Regions from separate parts of the Homo sapiens genome. Here region 1 is linked to region 2. The links are contacts of gene promoters, found by promoter capture Hi-C in human tissues and cell types (Jung and others, 2019). All regions are on one chromosome and are shown on one strand. Each heading gives the region's core, a stretch centred on a gene start or on the middle of the fragment in contact. The rest is flanking DNA. Distances are from core to core; before and after follow the strand shown. Region 1 has its middle 9.2 kb from the start of PKD2. Region 2 holds the start of NUDT9 (nudix hydrolase 9).

The links. Contacts are between HindIII fragments. The study calls those that stand out against the background at their distance.
Region 1: a contact is called between a fragment that was not itself captured here and the fragment with the promoter of NUDT9 in region 2, in 1 of the 25 tissues and cell types used here (liver).

Annotation. Positions count from the first base shown.
Region 1 is chr4:87,996,178-88,000,679 of GRCh38, forward strand. It overlaps the pseudogene RNU1-36P. Among named protein-coding and RNA genes, the nearest start is that of PKD2, 9.2 kb to the right of the region's middle. The HindIII fragment of the contact is 5,272 bases long and covers 247-4,502 here.
Region 2 is chr4:87,419,931-87,424,359 of GRCh38, forward strand. NUDT9 (nudix hydrolase 9) reads left to right here and starts at 2,643. Exons shown (of 8, transcript NM_024047.5): 1 at 2,643-3,082. The coding sequence starts at 2,976. RefSeq lists enhancers at 2,412-2,461, 2,531-3,465, 4,009-4,429. The HindIII fragment of the contact is 9,950 bases long and covers 1-4,429 here.

The DNA.
Region 1 (4,502 bases), core at 1,633-4,132, 580 kb after region 2:
TGCAATAGTGCGATGTCGGCTCACTGCAACCTCCACCTCCCAGGTTCAAGCGATTCTCCCACCTCAGACTCCCAAGTAGCTGGGACCACAGGTGCGCGCCCCCACGTCCGGCTAAGTGTTGTATTCTTTTAGTAGAGACGGGGTTTCGCCATGTTGGTCAGGCTGGTTTCAAAATCCTGACCTCAGGTGATCCACCCACCTTGGCCTCCCAAAGTTCTGGGATTACAGGCATGAGCCACCGCACCTGGCCTACACACACATTTTATGTTGACAAATTCTTTATTTACTGAGACATTAGAAAATTACATGTCAAAGAGTGCTTAAAGATATCCATTAATGGAATTTAACAGAGGCTATATAGCTTGCAAAATATGAAGGACAAAATAAAGAAAACGATACATAAAGTGAAAACTAAATCATTGAATAACAAGAACCTATTTTTCAAGAGAAACACTGAAATAACAGAATGATGAAAGAAATCAATTGTAACAACAAATATAAATAGACGAAGCCTCTCTGTTAAGACAAAGATTCACATGATGGAAAATAATAATAATAGATCCTACATCACTTATTGTTTCACTTTGCTTTAGGTGTTTTCCTTACAAATAAAGTAAAACATTTTTAAAGATTTGCAACATTACTGTTAAATAAGAAGTAAAATTTAGAAACAAATAACATGAAATGAAACAAAGAACTTATTCTACATTGTTAAAGATCCAATAAAGATATAACTATCATAAACCACTATGCAGCAAATAACAGACCAACAAAATATTATAAACCAAAAACTATTAGAACCACAATGAATAATCAATAAAAACATACAAATAGTGAAAATTTCAACTTATTACTTGGAATCACTTAGATTCGCTAAGAAAATTGGTGACATACTCAGCAGAATAGTTTCACAAGGAGTCATACAAGACAGACCAGCCTTTACTCTAGGCTAGTTTGGTCCTACTACGGAGGCATTGTCCTTCTGAGTATTCTCTTCAACACCTCATACAGTATAAGATTTCTTCAATTCAGATGACAAAAACTTGAGAAATTTCCCGGTCTATGTGAACATCAGGAATTTTTCCACCTGCTTCTTTCTGGTAGTTCTTTCCCTTGCCTCAGGTGGGTTCACCAAACGCATGATCTGAAAACTCAAGGGAAACTCTGTGGAGGTAGCTGGAGCTCTTTCTCTGCACAATACTCTTTTTTTTAGTTCTTTGTGAATTCTGTCCACTTTGACTTTCCCCAAATTCTCAATGAACTCTGTCTTCTCAATTGAGTGAGACTGATAGCTTGAAATCTCTTTCTAGGGAATCAGTAGAGAAACCATAGGGTTTACTTCCTTTTTTTATCTTCTTTGAAAAATTACTGTTTATACTGCCTGTTGTCCCATGTTTCAGAACCATCCTTTATAAATTTTGTCTGTATTTTGTTTAAGTAAGAGGGTAAATCTGTCCGTGTTGCTCCATCAGAGCCAGGAACAGAAATCCTTTAAAAATAATTTTAACTTTAAAAAAGAATGAAAAATATAAAATAAAATACATGACCATGGAAAAATGAAAAGTGAGCTGGCAGAATTCACAGGAGGAATTAAAGATTTTCAATAAATAATTAGGAAAAGAAAAGCCACCTTTAAAACCACAAAATCATGAATGGTACAATAATATGAAGGTCAAGATTTATAAAAATCCTATTAAAAATAAAAATAGAAAATGACAGAAAGAGAAATTAGAAAGGAGATAATACAGAAACATGACACAGTAGCTCAACATATGCGTAATAGGTATTGCTAAATTTACAGAATTAATGAAACAGCAGATTATTTGAAATTATAAAAGAAGAAAACCTTGTTAAAATAAGTAAAAATTTGAATTTGCTGATTAAACATGCACAATATCTCCTAGGTAAATAATTATGCTGAATAATCAACAGAAAGATGTATCTGAGAGCAGGATAACAATAACAATAGTAATAATAATAATTTCACTAAACAGACATAACTTTTGGGCCAAATAATAATCATAATAAAATACTCATCTACTCAGCCTGAGAGAAAAACAATGGGTTTAATCTGACCTCCTACTTTTCCCATAACAACATTTAATGGCAGAGGAAAGTGGAGGAATATTTAGAAAATCCTAAAGAGGAGGAGAAAAGATTAAACTGAAAAATATAATGCCCAATCCATTCGTTTTATGTCTATGGTAACAGAAAGGCCTTCTTAATTTTAAACAGTTTTGGGGAATAATGAAGCATTAATGGGTTGTTCTTTGAAAACAAACCAAAAAAAAAACACCTAATAAAAAATCTACTCCAGAAGGTTTAAATAAAGAGAAAAAAATTCAAGGAAGAAAAATTCATGTTAGTAAAGTACTGGTAGTAACTAACTATTGGGTACTATGCTCAGTACCTGGATGACATGATCTTTCATACCCCAAATCTCAGCATCACACAATATACCCAGGTAACAAACCTGCACATATACCTCTGAGTCTAAAATAAAAGTTGAAAAAAAGAGAGAAAACTAGCTTTATTTTTAATGGTTTGCTTTAATGTAACAGCGGTGTGTTAACTCAGTACAAACATTGAAGGTGATCAGAAAACTCATGAATTTTTATTATAGGAACTGTGGAATATTCTATATATATCTGAAACTTATAGTTACTTGTTTTAGGATATCCATAATAAAACTCTTTCATGTGGTTTTCTGGGTCATTGTTTTCAGGAATAAGCTTGGTGTATAATATTGAATGCTCTTAGAAGTTGGATCTGCATATTTTCTCTTTTATCTCTACAAATTAAACAATACTAGGAACTATCTTCTATAAAATATAAATTTAACAATATGTTAATGACTATCTATAAAGATAATATACTTTTAAAAAAGTACTGGTAGTGAACAATGAAAAATTAAAATATATAAAATAAGTTATATTTACTGTTGTACCACAAAATGAAAGTTTATAGACTTTGGCAAATGTAAAAGATATTTATTTTAAAAGGTGTTTGTTGGTAAAAAGTTTACATTTGCTAATATCCTTATCTTTAAGAAGAAAGGTCAAAGGCTACTGTATTAGTCCATTTTCACACTGCTATAAAGCTACTATCCAAGACTGGGTAATTTATAAAGGAAAAAGGTTTAATTGACTCACAGTTCTACATGGCTGGGGAGGCCTCAGGAAACTTACAATCATGGCGGAAGGAGAAGGGGAAGCAAGGACCTTCTTCACCTGGTGGCAGGAGAGAGAAGTGAGGATGCAGGAAAAACTGCCATTCATAAAACCATCAGATCTCATGAGAATTCACTCACTATCACGAGAACAGCATGGGGGAAACTGCCTTCATAATTCAATCACCTCCCTCCCTTGACATGTGGGGATTACAACTGGAGATAAGATTTGAGTGGAGACACAGAGCTAAACTATATCAGCTACTGAAAAAAGTTGATAAATTAAAAAAAAATTAAAAATAAAAATAAAAAAAAAAGTAGACAAGGCTTAATTTTGTTGATGAAACCTATGACAGACTTCTAGACCCACCTTACTTTCAAATTCTTGGGCACTTAAAATAATTACTTAAGTAATATAAAGTGTACAGAAGCCAACAGAGAATATGTTTCTTTGCCTTAGTCCTCCAGTCCTACCCTATGTATAACGTGCCCCCAGCATATACCCTTTGTATACATAGGACTGTTGTCTTACCACAGAAACTAAGAACTAGAATTGTTGGATCAAATGGAATGCACTTTTTAAATAGTAATATATGCTGCCCAACTATCTTCCGAAAAGCCTTCACTACATTATTATAATCTCACCAAAAGCACATAGATGAGAATACCTATTGCCTATATTTATTAACACTGAATGTTATTGATCTATTGAATAAAAAGTTATCTTAATATAAAATTTCAAAAAAAAAAAAAAAATTGAAGATAAGCCACAGACTGAAAGAAAATATTTGCAAAAGACCTATCTGATAAAGGATTGTGATTCAAAATATACAAAGAACCCTTAAAGTTCAACAAGAAAATAAGCCACCCGATTGAAAAATAGGCCCAAAAGACTTACCAGGCAGGGTAGATACCATGACCACAAGGGTAGTTTTCCCTAGGGCAAGGCTTCTCTATTCCACTGAAGACTTGCTGATCCCTGTGATTTCTCCAAATGTGGGAAACTCAACTGCGTAATTTGTGGTAGCAGCATACTGCATTCATGCTTTTCCCCAGTAAATAAAAGGAAAAAATGAGCCAACAACCTGAACAGACACCTTACCAAAGAAGATATACAGATGGCAACTGAGCATATGAAAAGATGCTCCACATATATGTCAATAAGGAATTGCAAATTAAAACAACGAGATCCAATTGCCCGCCCATTTGAATGGCCAAAATCCAAAACACTGATAATGCTACTGCTGTTGAGGATGTGGAAAAAGAACTCTTATTTATTGCTGATGGGAATGCTGTAAATAATATTACAAAGACATGTGTACCTGTATATTCA
Region 2 (4,429 bases), core at 1,393-3,892:
GTACTTCTCAACCTGAGAAAGCAGTCAAAATAAACAAAGCTGGACACTAGTTAAAGCAGTAAGGACAGACTTTATTCAGTGATGCTAGTCCAATAGGGAAAAGAGTGTAATACAAACTAATCCCACACTTCCCTGAAACAAAAGGCTGTGGTATGCAAAAAGGAAAGGCACAAAAGGATCTTAAGTTTTGGGGGGTGGCAGGGGGGCACGGTGGTTTGTTGATTGATGTGATTAGGCCATTTGGGTTTGTTAACTGGCTCTTATCCAGAGGAGAAACAAACTTCTATCTTTATGATAGGAGGCAGTGGTGCTAGCTAAAGCAAGGTACCGGTCTTGTACAGGGACTAGGAGCTAGGGTGAGTTATCTTTCTGAATATTTGCATTTCAAAGAGATGGCTCCCAAGTCTTTGAGGAAACTGTGTTGGGTGGTAGACTTACATCACCAAGGGTAGAGAAACAAGCTTTCTAAAGTGACTGCTCTAAGAAGGGGTTCAGGGACCTATCTGCCTATCATCAAGTTTTGGCTGGAACAAACAGTAAATTCTCCAGGCATTGAGTTTTGATTTCAGGGAAGCATTTTAACGGGATCTGGGGTCAGCCTAGGGACAAGGCCTTAAGCTACTGGAAGCTATGCTAGAGTATAATCAAATCTCTCAGTGCCGAGAAAAGAACTTTTATATGAGGAAGGTAAATCCTTTTAAATTACCAGGCCCAGAGAGACATTAAAATGAGACAGCAATTACATCCTACTCCCCACTTTGTTATGCATTCATCTCTTTAAACTGCTTACTATAGCCACAAGTAGCTAAAAATTAACCTAATAATGGTACACTGGACACTGTAACTCGCACCCTATAGCTTAACGTATAGCCAACCACTAACCAATACTATTTCTACAAACCAGTAATTCTTTACAACTTTGTATCAGTCAACTCCCTGTCCCCTTTTTGCCTTTAAAAACCTGATTGTAACAAAGGTGGACAGGAGTTCACATTTAAGGTTACTTGGGTCTGGGTCTTCTGGGCAGCTGTCCTCACTTTGGCTAAAGTAAATGCTTTAAGTTCTATCTCGTGCCTCAGCGTCTAGGTTGACAGTGTAGTTTGAACAGTCAATACCTGTCGAGAGTTCTGCAGTTTTCAGAACAATGGTTGTTAAAATTCGATTAATCTGGCTTTTAAGATGGTCAAAGTTTTGTAACGTCGGTGTATTGGAACCACACCACAGAAACAGCGGATCATGTAAGTAAAAGTCAAATAGTTGCCACATCAATAAGCTAATATAAATGAAGTAAGCCTGATTACAAGCTGCTTTGGACAGTCTGGGTTTCCAACTTTGTTTGTCGGTTTGTTTAATTTTTGCCTCTCAAGTTTATTATCCAGTATTATGTGTGTTGCCCTCTGTTCCTCCTCCAGCATGTGTGCCTATTTTCACAGCTTTTCTCCTCCACGAGTTTCCAAGGGCCACAACTGGTCCTAGCAAAGCCTTGTGAATGAAATCCAGCAATTGGAGCAGACAACTTGGTTAAGAAAACAAAAACAAAAAACCAAGAAACCCTTCAAGATACGAGGGCTGAGTCTCTGGACTATCTCCTCTTGCTGTAACCGCCCAAGGGGTTCACCTTTCCCGCTTCCTAGACAGAGCTGATTCATCAAGACAGGGGAATTGCAATAGAGAAAGAGTAATTCATGCAGAGCCAGCTGTGTGAGACCGGAGTTCTATTATTACTCAAATCAGTCTCCCTGAGCATTCAGGGAGCAGAGGTTTTTTCTTTTTTTTTTTGATACGTAGTTTCACTCTTGTCGCCCAGGGTGGAGTGCAGTGGTGCGACGTTGGCTCACTGCAACCTCCACCTCCCGGGTTCAAGCGATTCTCCTGCTTCATCCTCCTGAGCAGCTGGGACTACAGGCGCGTTTACCACCATGCCCAGCTAATTTTTGTATTTTTAGTAGAGACGAGGTTTCACCACGTTGGCCAGGCTGGTCTTGAACTCCTGACTGCAAGTGATCCCGCCTCGGCCTCCCAAATCAGTCATAATTTTGCAAAGGCGGTTTCATTCCCATAACGAAGTATTATTCAAAAATATGGCTAAGACCTGCGTCCTTCCGCAACAACTTACTCCCTAAAAAAACCAGAGCAGGGCCAGGCGCGTTGGCTGAGGCCTGTAACCTCAGCACTGTGGGAGGCCCAAACAGTTGGATTATTTGAGCTTGAGAGTTGGAGACCAGCCTGGGCAACATGGCAAAAATCTGTCGCTACAAAACATACAAAAATTAGCCAGGTATGGCGGTGTGTGCCTGTAGTCCCAGCTACGTCGGGGGCTGAGACAAGAGACTCGCTTAAGCCCAGGAGGTTGAGGCGGCAATGAGCTGAAATCGCGCCCCTGCACTGCAGCCTGGGCGACAGAGCCAGACTCTTGTCTCAAAAAACAAAAACCAAAAACCCAGGGCAGCAAGTCTCTCTCAAACCCCTTGGCTTCTTTCCCACTTATTCCCGTTCCAGTTCCTCGTCTGTTTCACCTTTCCTTTCCTCTGACACTTTCTTGGTAGTTCCCTGCGTCCCCAAGTAAGCCTGCGCAGACTGGGAAGTCTGGGAAGTCGGAGAAGGAAGGCGCTACCAAGCCGGCAACGCACGACCTTTGCTTTGCGGCGCGGCCGTAAAGCGCCATTACGCAGAGAGAAAGTTACGAGGTTCGTGGCCGCGGTTTCCCCAGGCAGCTGGCGCTGGAGGCTTCGGCGTCACGTGCTGGTCTGGATTTTTCTCGATGCACTGGGGAAAGCGGTGGACTCTTATCGTGGGAGGGCTCTTGATCTGTGATTTATAGATAGGCACAGCTACTCCCGTTCGGGAACCCAACGGCAGACAGGTCCTAGTGCCCATCAGATACCCGCGGCCGGGACTCGGAGCTGTGGGGTGTGGGGAGGCGGAGGCACCAACTAAGAGCGACCTAGCATCGCAAAGCCGCCCTCGGGGCGCTCATGGCGGGACGCCTCCTGGGAAAGGCTTTAGCCGCGGTGTCTCTCTCTCTGGCCTTGGCCTCTGTGACTATCAGGTCCTCGCGCTGCCGCGGCATCCAGGCGTTCAGGTATTCCACCCTCCTACTACCGGCTCCTTTGCCCTAGACCTTGAGTTGGGGGTGGGAAGCAGCTTTTTTTTCTGGCGTATTCTGTAGGCTTTGCTTTGCCTCTCGGGTTTTTATAGTCATATACAAGTTTTCAAAAAGGCTCTAAAATATTTTATCTGCCTTTTGAGGAAAACGAGTGGCAGGGACCCTTCTTGACTTCTGATTTTGAAATTTGCCATTCTCTGTAAATCATTGTTAGTATCACGAGAGAGTTTAAATAGCAATTGTTTGGGGTGGTGGTGTCCCGTGCCATTTTTTTATGGTTAATACTTAAAACATTATTATTAGTATTAATACATGTACATAGTTAAAACAACTTGAAAATGTAAAATGAAAAGTAAAATCACTATTCCCCCTGTCCCCTTTCCAGGGTGGACAATATATTATATTTACTATCTACCTCCTTTTTTTTAATAATTTGTCTATTGTGGTTAAATTTAGGGATTTATGGTGTCTTACACTGCCTCCTTCTGTTCTTCCCTTCTCCAGTTTTTATTCTTTGAGTTAGTAAACACAGGGTCCTAGGTGCAGCAGCCTTTTCTTATTTTATAGATATTAAAAGTCTTGAATCTACAAAGATGATAATTAGAAAAATCTATTTCCTAAATAATTTACTTACTGTTGGTCAATTGTTCTGTGTCTTTTTGGTCCTGTTTCCTTCTGTTGCTTTTTCTCGAACATGTGATGGGCACTGGTTATCTGTCTATATTTTGATTAATATGAGTAATAGGTCTTGTTTTCAGTACATGGGTCGCTAATTGACTTTTGGCTCTGTACCAGGTTGCCTAGATAGGAAGGTTTCAGTTGAGGGCATGTGAGCAGGTACCAGATGGGTAGACTGGGAACCTGCCTTTTGCTTCAGGCTTTGCAGTAGTGGTGGAGCAACTTCTCTGCTGAGTATAGCTGTTTATTTCCTCCGTGTGAACTGTAAAATTATTAAGCCTAAGTTTCTGCTGTGTACTCTTAACACCAGTATTCACAGTAGGGGTCCTACCCCTTCATTTCTAAAAAACTTTTGATTTTATCTTGGAGACAAACATAACTATTTTGGACTTTTTGCTTGGAGATTGGGGAGGGAGGAGGACTGAGTGATTTCCATGGTTATTGTCGCGCTGCCAGTTTATGATCCTTGGGCCCACTGACTTCAAGCTTGAAACCTCTAGCTCGGCTCAGCTTGTAGGAATAGCATTTCTCCCTAATGCGTTTTTTTTTTTTTTTTTTTTTTTGAGAAGGAGTTTCGCTCTGTCGCCCAGGCTGGAGCGCAGTGGCGCGATCTCGGCTCACTGCAACTTCCGCCTCCTGGGTTCA